2 separate regions of the Homo sapiens genome follow, and region 1 is linked to region 2. Evidence: promoter capture Hi-C in human tissues and cell types (Jung and others, 2019). All regions are on one chromosome and are shown on one strand. The core of a region is centred on a gene start or on the middle of the fragment in contact, and the rest is flanking DNA. Distances in the headings are between cores, read along the strand shown. Region 1 overlaps FUNDC2 (FUN14 domain containing 2). Region 2 holds the start of DKC1 (dyskerin pseudouridine synthase 1).

The links. Contacts are between HindIII fragments. The study calls those that stand out against the background at their distance.
Region 1: a contact is called between a fragment that was not itself captured here and the fragment with the promoter of DKC1 in region 2, in 1 of the 25 tissues and cell types used here (lymphoblastoid cells).

The regions. Positions count from the first base shown.
Region 1 is chrX:155,043,107-155,049,829 of GRCh38, reverse strand. FUNDC2 (FUN14 domain containing 2) reads right to left here. Exons shown (of 5, transcript NM_023934.4): 3 at 3,246-3,321. Among named protein-coding and RNA genes, the nearest start is that of FUNDC2, 20 kb to the right of the region's middle. The HindIII fragment of the contact is 7,075 bases long and covers 1-5,634 here.
Region 2 is chrX:154,758,017-154,765,044 of GRCh38, reverse strand. It overlaps DKC1 (dyskerin pseudouridine synthase 1), which reads right to left and starts at 2,181. Exons shown (of 15, transcript NM_001363.5): 1 at 2,064-2,181; 2 at 79-146. The coding sequence starts at 2,079. RefSeq lists enhancers at 1,651-1,750, 2,501-2,560 and a silencer at 2,101-2,400. The HindIII fragment of the contact is 8,972 bases long and covers 1-4,486 here.

The sequences.
Region 1 (6,723 bases), core at 848-3,347, 280 kb before region 2:
AAATATTAGGTACAAATCAAATAAAACATACAGGATCTGTATACTGAGAACTACAAAATGCTGAAGAAAGAACTCAAAGACAACCTAAATAAATGGAGAGACACATCATGTACATGGAATGGAATACTCAACACAGAAATGATGCCCAGTTCTCTCCAAATTATCCATAGATTTACTGCAATCCCAAATCACAAATCCCAGTAGGATTTCTTATAGATACATAAATAAGCCGGTTCTAAGATTTATATGGAAAGGCAAAGGAACTGGAATCACCAAAATGAATCTGAAAAAGAACAGAGTTGGGGAAATCACACTACCTGATTTAAGATTTACTATAATGCTACAGTAGTCAAGACAGTGTGTCATACTGAAGAAGAGATAGACACACAGACCAACAGAACAGAATAAAAAGTACAGAAACGGACGTGGACAACTACAACAAACTGATTTTTCACAAGGGGGCAAAAGTAGTAATGGTGGTGGTGAAGTCCCCTGGGTGGCCCAGGCCAGGATTGCGAGGTGACTTCCTGCTCTCCTTGGCATTACTGGGGGACTGCACTGCAGGGGCAAAGCAACACCAGAACTGGGAAAAGCAGCCTCTCCCGCTGCAAGGTCCCTCCAGCGCCCTCTACTGACAAAGCTCAACATCCTACTTCCATTGCAGCACAACAAGTAGAGGGAGCCGAATAAACTGAAAACTGGCAAGCGTTGCTGCTGGGCTCTGAAAGCTGCAAAAAGTGCTGGAAATGATCTACAGCTTGGTAAGAAAAAGCAACTACATTCATAAAGACGTGAAGGAAAAATTTCACTGTTCACAGATGGCATAAAAAGATTTTATAGACAAAACCCAAAAGAATCCCAGACAAGACTTTTTTAACAAGGTGGCTGGCTGAAAGAGCAACATAAAATATCAACTGTATTTCAACACACTAGCATGAATCAGAATGTGTAGTTTTAAAAATCGTATCATCCACAAGAGCAACTAAAGTTATAAGGTATCCAGGAATAAAACTGAATCACAGATGTACAAGATCTATACGGAAAAATAATAAAAAGTCTATTCAAAGGCATTAAAGAAGACCTAAATAATTGGAGAGAAAGCCCGTGTTCACAGATAGAATACTCAATATCATAAGAGATATCTACATGGTTCCAATGCAATTCCGATAAAAATTTCAACAGGATTTTTGAAAATAACTGACAAGTCTGATCTAAAATTTAGATGAATGAGCAGAAACACAAAAGTAGCTGCAACACTCCTGAAGAATAAGGTGGAGGAATTTGCATTACCAAATATTAAGCTTTAGTACTGTCATAAAGATCGAAAGTTGACCAGTGGAACAGAACACAGAAACCAGAGTCACAGCCACACATACATGGGTTCTGATATATGAAAGAGACAATGCTGCAAATGTTGGGAAAGGGAAGAATTATTCACTAAATTCTGCTCAATTATCAGTATGGAAAAAAGGAAACTGGATCCCTATGTCAAACTATAACTTGTGATATAACTGATCTCCCAACATTATGCTTGCCTCCTGCTCTCACTCCCCTGGTGACAGATAACATGAGTGCCTGCCACAGATTCTCCATGTCTCACCTCTGCAGCAAAGCAGTGTCCCTGTACCCCTTGAATATTGGAATTATCCAACCCCAAAATCTCATTTTGAGGTGCCTTTCTGGAGACATTTTCAATACCAATTATTTCTGTCAGGGCCCCAAAACGAAACAGAGGACACACTCAAATTAAGACATTTCAAAGCAATATTAAAATGTTTATGAAGTTTGGGGCAGCATATAAGGGAAACCACAGGGATAGAGATGTTACTGCACTTCCACCTGAAGGGTCAAGGGGAAGGAGAGAGAGGTGTGAGGAGGGGCCCCACCTTGCAGGGAGTCTGACCTGTCTAGCAACAGAGCCAGCACGTAACAAGCCCACAGGGAAGCAGCCAACAAAAGTGAGGCTTGGGCAACAAAGGAGATGCAACTTGCACCATGTTTCTGCAGAACTGTGCTTGGGAGTCCTGAGGTCATGGTAGTGTGAGGAAGCCTATACTGGCACAGGGACCACATGGAAGAGCACTGAGACTATGGACAGGGGGGAAATAAGGAGAGGAGGAGGGAAGACAAACAGAGACAGAGACACAAAGAGGCCCCACAAGTCCAGACCTACCCTAACCCTCTGATCATCTGGCCTGTAACCACATGAGACTCTGATCCACAAGCACCTACCTTAACCCTCCCCAAACTCCTGTAACCATGAGAGAGAATAAAGTGATCATTATTTGAAGCCATTAGGTTTGGGGGAATTTGTCATGCAGCAATACCACACTCAACCCAGCTACAGCCAGTTACCAGCTTCCCTCTTCGATACATTTGATTTTCACCTGACCTATCTGCAAAACTCACTCCAATCATGGTGCTAATGCAGAACTTACCTTGCAAAAGTGAGGGTTGCCAACTGTGGGAAGAGACAAACGGCTGTGAATTCAGAGACTCTGGCATGATTCAGCAAGTTATGGCTCCCACAGCACAGCAGAATCACCTCAGGAGTTTTAAGTTTTCCAATGAAATCAGACTGTGGGTCAGGAGTGGCACACGTTGGCTCTTTTAAAAACTCCTAGGTGATTCCAATGTGGAGCCAAATTTGAATACCAATGCCACAGAGCTAAGAAATGTATGCCTAATACAATCAAATGTCAGTTTTCTTTTGTTTTTGGAGAAACTGCTCCCTTTTTCAAGTCTTGCTTGTTAGTCTCTCCTAAGCAGTCTCAGAGAACTGGCAACCACTGGTTCTGAAACTATGGGTCAAGGAGACAGCAGACGACATCTGACTGTACTGTCACTTAGCTCCCATTTCTCATCACATGCTCAACATCCCCTCTGTGAAAGCTAGCTATAATATTAGCATATGACACTAAATCATCACAGCACACTTGTATTTTTGAAATCACATCCGCTTAATAATTCAGCTGGTCTTAAAAACTCTTTTAAGGGAGCTATGATAAGGAATTTGCACTTCTGTCGCCACATGAGGAAATAAAATGGGACTGGCAAATAACATTTACTAGTATAATGAATAAAATTTGACTCAAACGGTCACTAGCATTTAAAATAGTACATGAAAACAAGTGCTAAGGCTAGTCTAGTGTGACATAGCCAGGACTGTATTACAACTCCCCACACCACATTCCTTAATGGGCAGGTGGAATTTCCAAACATCTGAGAACATTTCACATACAGACCTGAAGGAGAAAAAATCCACCTCCCACAGCTGTTGCAGCCAACTTTCCAACCTTCTGGAATATGAAACCTGTGCACCTACAAAAACAAACCAACATCAGACAAATTGATGAGCTGTCAGTTACATACAAACATGCATTTCTGGCAATGTTCATATCTTACTTAGCTTAAGATGACCTAGCTCCTTCCTACCCCCTACATAAAGCCAGCCCCAAGAGGAGCATGACATAAGGAAATCAAATCTTGGCTCTATGAATCTTGTGGTCTTGAGTAAGTCCCTTAAAACTCTCAGGTTATATTTTTAAAAGATGACTCTGGCTACATTGTGGAGAAGAGATTAAAGGGGGAGGACGAAGGCAGAGACTCTAGTTAAGACGGTGAGGTAGCGATCCAGAAGAGAAGTGAATGCCAATGGGCCGAGGTAGAGATGGCAAGGAGGGAGCAGACCTGAGGAACTGTTTGTGAAGAAAAAAAAAAACACTCCTGAGTTTGAGGACAGGATGGTTGCAAGGGATAAGGCACAAGATTCTGTCCTGAATGTGGCATTTTTTACAATATAAAAACAAGGAAGAGGAATAGAGGAAAAGGTGGGGGAAGGGAGGGGAGGAGATAATGTCATTTTGAATATGTTGAATGCAAAATGTCCATATGATATCTGAGTGGCAACATCTTGTAGCCAGTTTAATATAATTATGTGTTTCTTTATTACTGTCTATCTTCCTGCCCCCACCCGATACTAAAATGTAAGCTTCATGAAGGCAGAGATTTTGTTGTTTCATTGCTGAACACCTATCAGCTGTAATCATTAACCATTGTTGAAAAAATCCTCCCTAGACTCCAATTCTCCAGCCCCCTTCCCTTTTCTGTGCTCTCCTTTACAGCAAAACTACTTTGAGGCCGTCTCTTTTGTCCTGTGTCCATATTCTCTCACACCTACACCATTCAGGCTTTTGTCCCATGACTTCAATGAAACCATTCCTATCAAGGTTACCACTGATCTTGACCTTACCAAATGCTAGTGTTCACTTCTCAGCTTTAATCTCATCTGACCTACAGCAGCTTTTGACACAGTTGATTACTCTCTCCTTTTTTTAAAAAAGGTATTTTATTGTGTATATTTGAGGTTTACAACATGATGTTATGGGATACATATAGACAAGTAAAGTGGTTACTATAATGAATCAGATTAATATATCTATCATCTCACATAGTTACTTTTTTGTGATAAGAGCAGCTAAAATCCACTTAATTCACAGAAATCCCTAAGGCAATACAATTGCATTAGCTGCAGTCCTCATGCTGTACATTGGATCTCTCGACTTGCTCCTCTTACATATTTGCTACTTTGTATCCTTTGACCCACATCTTCCCATTTCCTCCCATCCTATCCCTGGTAACCAGTTTTATTTCTTTATATTTATTATATTATACAACTGTATATATGACTTTTTCCCCACACATATGAGATCATGCAGTATTTTGTCTTTCTATGTCTGGCTTACTTCACTTAGCATAATGTCCTCCAAAATCTATGCTATGGCAAACAGCACAATCTCCTTTTTTAAGGCTAAATAGTATCCCATTGTAGACACATTTTCTCTATCCATTCATCCATTGATGGACACTTAGGATGTTTCCATATCTTGGCTACTATAAATTAATGCTGCACTGAACATGAGAGGGCAGATATCTTTATGAGGTGGTGATTTCATTTCCTTGGGGTATATACTCAGAAGAGGAATTGCTGGGTCGCATGGTAGTTCTAATTTTAATTTCTTTAGGAACCTCCATACTGTTTTCCATAATGGTTGTAACAATCTACATTCCCGCCAACAGTGTACTAGGGTTCCTTTTTCTCCACACCCTCATCAACAATTATCTCTTGTCTTTTTGATAACAGCCATTCTAACAAGTGCCAGTTGATATCTCATTGTGCTTTTAATTTGCATTTCCCTGATAATTGATGATGCTAAGCATCTTTTCATATACCTCTGGTGGCCATTTCTATGCCTTCTTTGGGGAAATGTCTGTTCACGTCTTTTCCCCATTTTTTAAATCAGGTTATTTGTTGTTCTGCTATTGTACTCTCTCCTTCTTGACATCTTTTTGCTCTGGAATACCATTCTCTCTTGGTTTTCCTCATATATCACTGGCCATTCCTTATCAGACAATTTTGCTGAGTCCTCCTCTTTCTGACTTCTGAATGTTAGGTTGTTCTGAGGCTCAGTCCTAGAACCTCTTTGCTCTGTGTATTCACTTTCTATCTGCTGGGTCTATACCATGATCTCTGATGTAGGTTACTGTTACAGCTCCTCATCTGGACTTCTTACCTCCACTTTCACCCCCTAGAATCTATTCTCAATATAGCAGCTCATACAGTCCTAAAACAGGGGTCGACAAACCGCAGCCTGGGAGCCAAATCCTGCCAGATGTCTCTTTGTAAATCAAGTTGCAACAGAGATTGTGTGATCCATAAAGCCTACAATATTTACCATATGGGCTCTTTACAGAAAAACTTTGCTGACCCCTGCTCTAAAATGTAAGATCAAGGTACACTTCTGCTCATAACCTTCCAGTAGCTTCCCTCCTCACTAAGAGAGAAAGTTAAAGCCTTACACTTAACATCTTGTCTCCCATTACCTCACTACCCTCATTGTCTACTGTTCTCCCCTTATTACATTTCAGCTCAGTAAGAGAAAGAATTACAAATACAACAATGCATGGAGAACCTCATAAGACTTTTAATCTTTTTTAAACAAAAGTTAGATGTCAGGCAGTATATTTCTGAAGCGACTCTGAAATTGGAAGGGTGGTAGGACCAGTAAATAAATGATAAGGGTCCATTTTAAGAGCATTCCACTGTTCAGACTTACTAAAGTATAATCAGAGTAACTGACATATTTAGAATGGTTACAGATTTTTGCTGTTACAAAAATTGTTGCACTGTTTACAACACCTGGCTTTTTCTCTTTTTAAAACAAAACACACATTTTAAATAAAGCCTAATAACAAAGCAAGACCCAAAAAGATCAAGTGATTTCTAAGTAACTGCATCCAAGAACAAGAATCAAGCACATTTATAAGAATAAAAAATATCTAGCACCCAATGAAGTAAAATTCATAATATCTGCCATCTAATTAAAAACTACCAGGCTTGCAAGGCAGAAAAATACCACGATCAAAAAAAAATAAACTAAAAGAAACCCAGAAATGATACTGATGAAAAAATTAGTAGACAAAAGCATTAAAAGTTATTACAATTATATTCCATATGTTCAAGAAGCTAGAGAAAAGATTGCACATAATAAGTAGAGGCAAGGAAGCTCTTTTAAAAACATGCAAATCTTGGCTGGGTACAGTGGCTCATGCCTGTAATCCCAGTACTTTAGGAGGCCAAGGCAAGAGGATTGCTTGAGCCCAGGTGTTTAAGGCCAGCCTGGGCAACATAGTGAGTCCCCATCTCTCTAAAAATAACTTTTT
Region 2 (7,028 bases), core at 932-3,431:
AACACTTCTTTCCTTTAGTTTGTTATTTAAGTAAACTTTCTTTTTAGTCAAAGTGAAGTCAAACACATTACTACTCACGGCTACATCTTCTTCTGGCAATGACTTCCGCTCCTTTTTCTTCTTATGTTTCTTTGGCAAAATAATTACTAAAAAAACAAACACAGGATTTGGGAATTTTCCCCAAGAATAAATGAAACAAGGGTTTAAAATAAAGACCGAAATTAGGGCAGGTAGGAAATGGATTTTAGGTCTACAATTACAGTCACATGCCACATAATGTTTTGCAAGTACAGACTGCGTATGTGATGGTGGCCCCCATAAGATTATAACAGAGCTGAAAAATTCCTATCTCCTAGTGATGTCTTGATGATCCTGACCCTGTGTAGGTCAAGGCTACTGTGTGTGCTGTGTTTGTGTCTTAGTTAACAAAAAAAAATTTTTTAAGAAAAAAATTAAAAAATTTTAAAATAGAAAACTTATAAATAAGGAGATAAGCAGAGAAAATATTTACGTACAGCTAAATAATGTGTTTGTTTTAAGCTAAGTATTATTACAACAGTCGAAGTAAAAAGTTTATAAAGTTACAGTAAGCTAAGGTTGATTTATTCTGAAGAAAAATATATTTTTATAAATTTAGTGTAGCCTAGGTGTACAGATTATAAAGTCTCCAGTAGTGTAATGTCTGAGGCCTTCACATTCAGTCACCGACTCAACCAGGGCAACTTCCAGCTCAGCAAGCTCCATTCATGGTAAGTGCCCTCCTCTACGGGTGCACCACTTATAACCTTGTGTACTATATATATATAATATACATACATATAATACATACATATATAATATACATATATACACACACATATTTATATATATATATAATTTTTTTTTTTTGAGACGGTCACACTCTTTCCCCAGGCTGGAGTGCAGTGGCAGAAACTCGGCTCACTGCAACCTCCTTCTCCAGGTTCAAGCAATTCTCCTGCCTCAGCCTCCCGAGTAGCTGGGATTACAGGCGTATACCACCACGCCCACCTAAATTTTTTGTATTTTTAGTAGAGACGGGGTTTCACCATGTTGGCCAGGCTGGTCTTGAACTCCTGACCGCAGGTGATCCGCCAGCCTGGGCTGGGATCACAGGCCTGAGCCACCGCGCCCGGCCCTGTGCTATATTTTTACTGTCCTTTTTCTGCTTAGACATGTTTAAGTACACAAACTCTCGACGCTGTGTCCCAACTGCCTACAGCATTCCGCACAATACCATGCTGTCCAGGTTTGAAGCCTAGGAGCCATACGCTACACCATATACAGCCTAGGTGTGTAGTAGCCTATGCCACCTAGGTTTGTGTAAGAGCCCTCTGATGTTCACACAATGATGAAATCGCCTAACGACCCATTTCTTAGAACGTATATCCGTAGGTAAGCGAGAAAACAAGGTGTGTAAGGCCAAATGTATGGGTCCCATGGCTGGGTAACTGACTGTAGGCTACTGCACGTGTCGGCTTCCCTTCCGGTTCACCACGTGGCTATGGCAGAGCTTAAACATCCCACAGAAGCGCTCACGCAGGGGGCCGGAAAGTTCCATAAGCGACCACTCGACTGTCCCCGCGGGCTTGTGGCCTCTAGAACTTTCTTGCAACTCGGAGCTCTATCCCTGCTCCGGGGTCCCTCCGCTCCTTTTCTTCTCGGCCCGTTTCCACTACCCTTGCTCCCCTAGTCGCATGGAGCTGTAACGGCGGCGTCCGGGCTGGCAGCAGCACAGACACTGCCACGTCCCACGCCACCGCGGGGTGGGCAGCACGGCAGATGTCTTTCGACGGCGACCCGGACCCCAGGGAGGTGAGAGGGCCGAGCCCCATCATGCCAAGTCACCGCGAGGGGCTCCCACTCTCGCGCCCTTGCCACGGAGCCAGGGCCGAGAGACAAGGCCGGCTTAAGGCCGGGCGGTGAAGAGGCCGACACGCCGGCGGGAACCAGAGGGAGGCGTGCGCGGGCCCCGATACCATCCCCCCACCCCCGTTCCCCGAGTCGCCCGGAGTTAGCACGGCCCGGAAGCCTGCAGCCCTTACCTTCCGCATCCGCCATGTTACCCTGCACCGCGTGCGTGCCGCCCGGTCCACAGCCGAGGGAACGACCGCAGACTCCCGCCGCCTTGGTCCCGTCAGGCCGCGCTGCTAGGACCCACCCACCCGCGCACTGCCCTGTGCGTGCCTTGCCGCGGGGCGGGAGGAGGCGGGGCCATCCCGGGGGCGGAATCCGAGGCGCCCGCTGGTCGTCTGCGCAATGCGATTTGCTGGCTCGGCCAGTACGGAGGGCGAGACCGCGCATGCGCTTCGAGCCTCAAGCAGCCTGGTTGGCCCAGGCTGGAAGCGCGAGTGCCGCCCGCCCCGACAGCCCGGAGTCTGTGGGCGTGGCCCCAGCTGTAGTTGCTTCACCTCCGGGTTTAGCTCCGCGCCTGCGCCTGGGCTCACGGCTGAACGCTCCGTAAACAGTACCTCTTTCTTTGCTTTCTCACACCGACCCTTTCAGGTTGCTGTTGGATCAGTCCTGATGCATAAGTGAACATGTTGAAGCTCGGAGAGGTTGAAAGGCCTTTGCTGCTTGCAGTTCCCATCCAGCTAGAGCAGATGGCCAATAGGAGTAGTGTGCGTGCCACATGTTGACTTTTAAATTTTCCAGCAGCAACATGAAAGAAGAGTAAAAAGAAAAAGGTGAAAATGATTTATAATGAATTTTTTTAACCCAGCGTATCCGAAATATTATCATTTCCACATATAGGCAAAACACAACAGTATGAATGGGGTATTTTACATTGGTTTTTTTTTTTTGTCCCCGCAAAGACTTTCCGGTGTGTGCGTTTATGCTCACAGCACACCTCAATTTGAACTCTACGACCGGGCTTCACGCCAAACAGCAGAGACAAAGCACTGGCACTAAATCTCATAGAAACAGGATGAGCCTGGGTATCATGATAGGCAGCAGGGCTGGAAGCTGGAACCAAACTGATTTCTCCCCAGGGATCTTTGGTGGTGTCTAATTGATCACAGTGTCCTGTAGTAAGCCATCATGATCTGTATAACCCCGGTAACTCTAGGTCTGGCTAAAGGCATTCTGCCTTGAATCACCACAATGGAAAATCATGGTGCCTCATCTAATTCCCAGATCTAGTCAGTCCACAGGCCAGAGCCCGTGAGGTGAGCCTGTAAAGGTGAGGCCAGGCACATGTAACGCTACAAGTGTGTACTTTCAGCCTGCCTCCTCCCTTCTCGTGGGACCCGTGGCCATTTACCAGGGGCTTGCACTAGCCCGTGTGAATCACTGGGGAAGTAGAATGCCACTTGGTCCAATGGTCAGAAGTGGAGTCAGCCCACGTCCCTTTCACTATCAGCCACCCTGTGGCTCTTTCCCCGGTTCTTGAATCCATACTTGTAATAAACACAATTGGTAGCTGGATAAATTCCCAGAGGGGCTTCCTGACTCAAGGACTGAGGGTGATAATGGAAGGAAAGAACAAAGGAAGCCTCTGGCACATTATCATAATTGAGTCCCTGGGAACTGATTTGATCATCTCACTGTACCCCAAGACATCATGCTGAGTGGACCTGATGCATAGGAAGTGGCAAATATTTCACCACAAGGTGAGAGAGAAGCCCCTTGAAAATTCAGGGAGGTGATACCTCAGTGAACTTCCTGGGCATGCAGTGGGCTGAGGCATGTTGAGACGGTCCCTCCAAAGAGAAAGACAAGTTGCCTTACTTGGAACCCTCTGCTTGCTAAAAAAGAAGCATGACACTCAGTGGGCCATTTTCTGGAGATGGCATACCCCATTAGGATGCTACACAGAGCCTTTTCCAAGCTTTAATAAGAGACTCACAGTTCAGCCCTCTGGAATTTGAAATAAACTTAAAGCTAAGACCTCCACACACAAAAAATAATAATTTGCCAGGAGGAAAAGCTCCTGGCTTGCTGTAATTATTTACTGAAACGGAATGACTGTGATACATGTGGTCTTAAGACCTGACCTGCCCATGATAAACTGGGTGTTGTCTGACCAAACCATGAGTACCATCAAGTACAATGATGCAGCCACTTTAGAAAATGGTCTGGCAATTCCTTGAAAGGTTAAACACAGAGTTACCATATGACTCACCAATTCTACTCCTAGGTATAGACCCAAGAGAATCGAAAATGGATTTTTAGATAGATGGTTGTACACATATGTTCATAGAAGAACTGTTCACAATAGCCAAAAGGTAGAAACAACCAAAATGAACAGATGAATAGATAAACAAAATGTGGTCTATTCATACAATGGAGCCGTAAAAAGGGATGAAGTACTGATCCATGCTACAACATGGATACAACATTGAAAGCATTATGCTGAGTGAAAGAAGCCATTCACCAAAGGCCACATTTTGTGTGATTCCATTTATAGGAAATATCCAGACTAGGCAAATCTAGAGACAAAAAGCAGATTAGTGGTAGCCTTGGCCTAGGAATTTAGGGGAACATGGGGAATGACTGCTAATGGGCACAGAGTTTCTTTTTGAGGTGATAAAAAAAGGTTCTAAAATTACATTTTGGTGATGGTTGCACAGGATTTCAAGAATTGTGGGATAGGATGGCCACTCATGATGGTTTGGGATCATCTAAATGACAGCCAAATTCCTCGAATTTTTGGTTTGGGTCACAGAGGGAATTTCTATAACAATGCTTAAGGAATTACTTATCTTTTACAGGCACAAGAATAAAACAACTAAAAACCAAACTTTAAAATTTTGACCCATCACCTTTCCAAATTACAAAACTCAGTGAGTTCGCAGCCTTCTCAGTTCTCTTAGTAAAGGTTGGGGCCACGATCAGAAAAGCATAGAACACTGGGATTTGAAATGGGAGTAAATTGGAGAATTGGGAGTCCCCAGAATCCCCAACTCTTACTGAGCCTCCATTGTTAAACAACCCCCACGTTTATCTGATTGCAGGTTCCCTTACTGTCTCATGAGGGAATTAGCAGGGAAGCAAAGGCACTTCCCTCCTACTCTCCCACCCCAATGTCTCCAGGCCTGTAACTAGAGTTAACCTCTACATTGCCTCAACTGAACAATTTAAGTCATGCAGCAGGAGAAAGCTTGCATATGAAAACAGTAGTAGGAGTTTGCAAACATGTACCAGGAAACAGGTAATATTTATGTAAATGATATGTGAAGGTTCTTGACCCAAAAAGAGAGAAGATCATTTTAAATCAGGCTGATTTCTTGGTATAGACGCTGGAATAGAGGTTCATGTGGAGGTGATGCCTGGACCAAGAAGCCTATCCCAGAGCTTTAACTGCAATGGACGATAGAGTTCAGGTGAGAGTGTACAAGGATTGAAGGAGGTGTTTTGCTAATAAATGCTGTAAGCTACTAGATTCCCATCCCAGATTATTTTTCACCACATTGTTTTCACCACATCTAGCCAGGTAACCAAAACAAAATTCTTGCATTTGTCTGAATGCAAGACTCATGGAAGACTTTGCTTCTAGTACCAAATCTTGTGCCACTTAGAAATGTTTTGTTTGGAAGTACAAGAAACAGACTGTTATTATTGGAAGGGTATTATAGACTGTGGGACTCAATAAAGAACAGGTTTAAAGAGTGGGGTGAGTGAACATTAAGGGTAGGCCTCAAAATTGTTTATGTCTCATCTCTCACCTTCACAGCACCACACCACACCAAGTTATACCATTAAATAAGACTTTAGTGGATGTTGGCAGAGGTAAAAACTGAAAATCACATTTAAAGAAAGGCATGTGAAACAATAGCTCTAAATATCTTTTTGTACTCTAAGAGAAAAGCCCCTAACAATGCCCTGCATGGATGCTCTTTAGTTCCCAGCCTGCTCTCCTGCCCTCAGGTCCTGTAGGGTTATACTGCTTCTAAAACGTTTCACTAGGTCATGTGTGGTAAGCACTGTTAGTTGGCTGCCTAACAGACATCCCTTTCCTCTTCTTTCTCCATAACAGAGCCCCAGTTTTGGCCAGGACAGCACTGTGCCCAGCAGCAGGGCAAGCATCACAGTCGCTCTAAGCCAGTCAGATCCTTTGTCACATCATTTACTGGCCTCTCTTGCAGTTAGGGTGGCCATGCGGCACAATTCTGGGCAACGAGTTGTAACTGGAAGTCAGCTGGAGAGGGGAGGATTGGGTAATGGCAATGAGGAGCCAGAAGTGGCCAAGTGGCTCTGTTTGCAAGTTAGTGGAGCGATTCTCATAAGTGGAAGCATGTTTTTCTTGGGTACTAGAATCTAAACCAGCCAGGTACAAAGTCATGAGGTTGAGAAGCAAAAATTCTGAAGGCAGATTATTCAGCATGTCTGTGAGATATGCCATTCCCCACCTCAACTCTGTTTTCCAGACCTCTTATATTCTGACCATGAGAAAAACTGCACCATTTAATGGTTTCTAGTTCAGCGTATGGTCCAGATCCTCACAAGAGTGTTGTGTCCCAACTAGGAACACAGCAGAATCTTCAACAGGCCATTTTATCATTGGCCAGATCAACGGCTGCCTACAGAATGTTGGAAGAGGTATGGAATTGTTTTAGCAAATAGATCACACCTGTAACCGTAGCAGCACTTGAAATAACCACCTGATTATGCTTTCAGTAATCCACAGTCGTTTAATGTCCACAGTTTAGGTTTCTACTGCTGCATAACAAACCATCCCCAAACTTAGTGCCATTAAACAGCCATTTCATTGTGCTGACAGGTTCTTCAGGTGAGAAATCAAGACAGGACACAGTGAGAATGGTTTCTCTTTGCTCTGTAATGTCTGAGGTCTTGGCTGAGATGACTTGATGGATAGGGGTGACAGGATGGCTGGAGGCTATAATCTTCTGGAAGCTTCTTCACTAACATGCCTGTTGCCTATACTAGGATGGCTGGAAGGCTGGGTTCCACTGGAACTTGAGCACCTACTACACACAGCCTCTCTTTATGGCGTGGCAGCCTTAGACTAGCTGGAGTCTGTACTTGGTGGCTCAGGACCTCCAAAG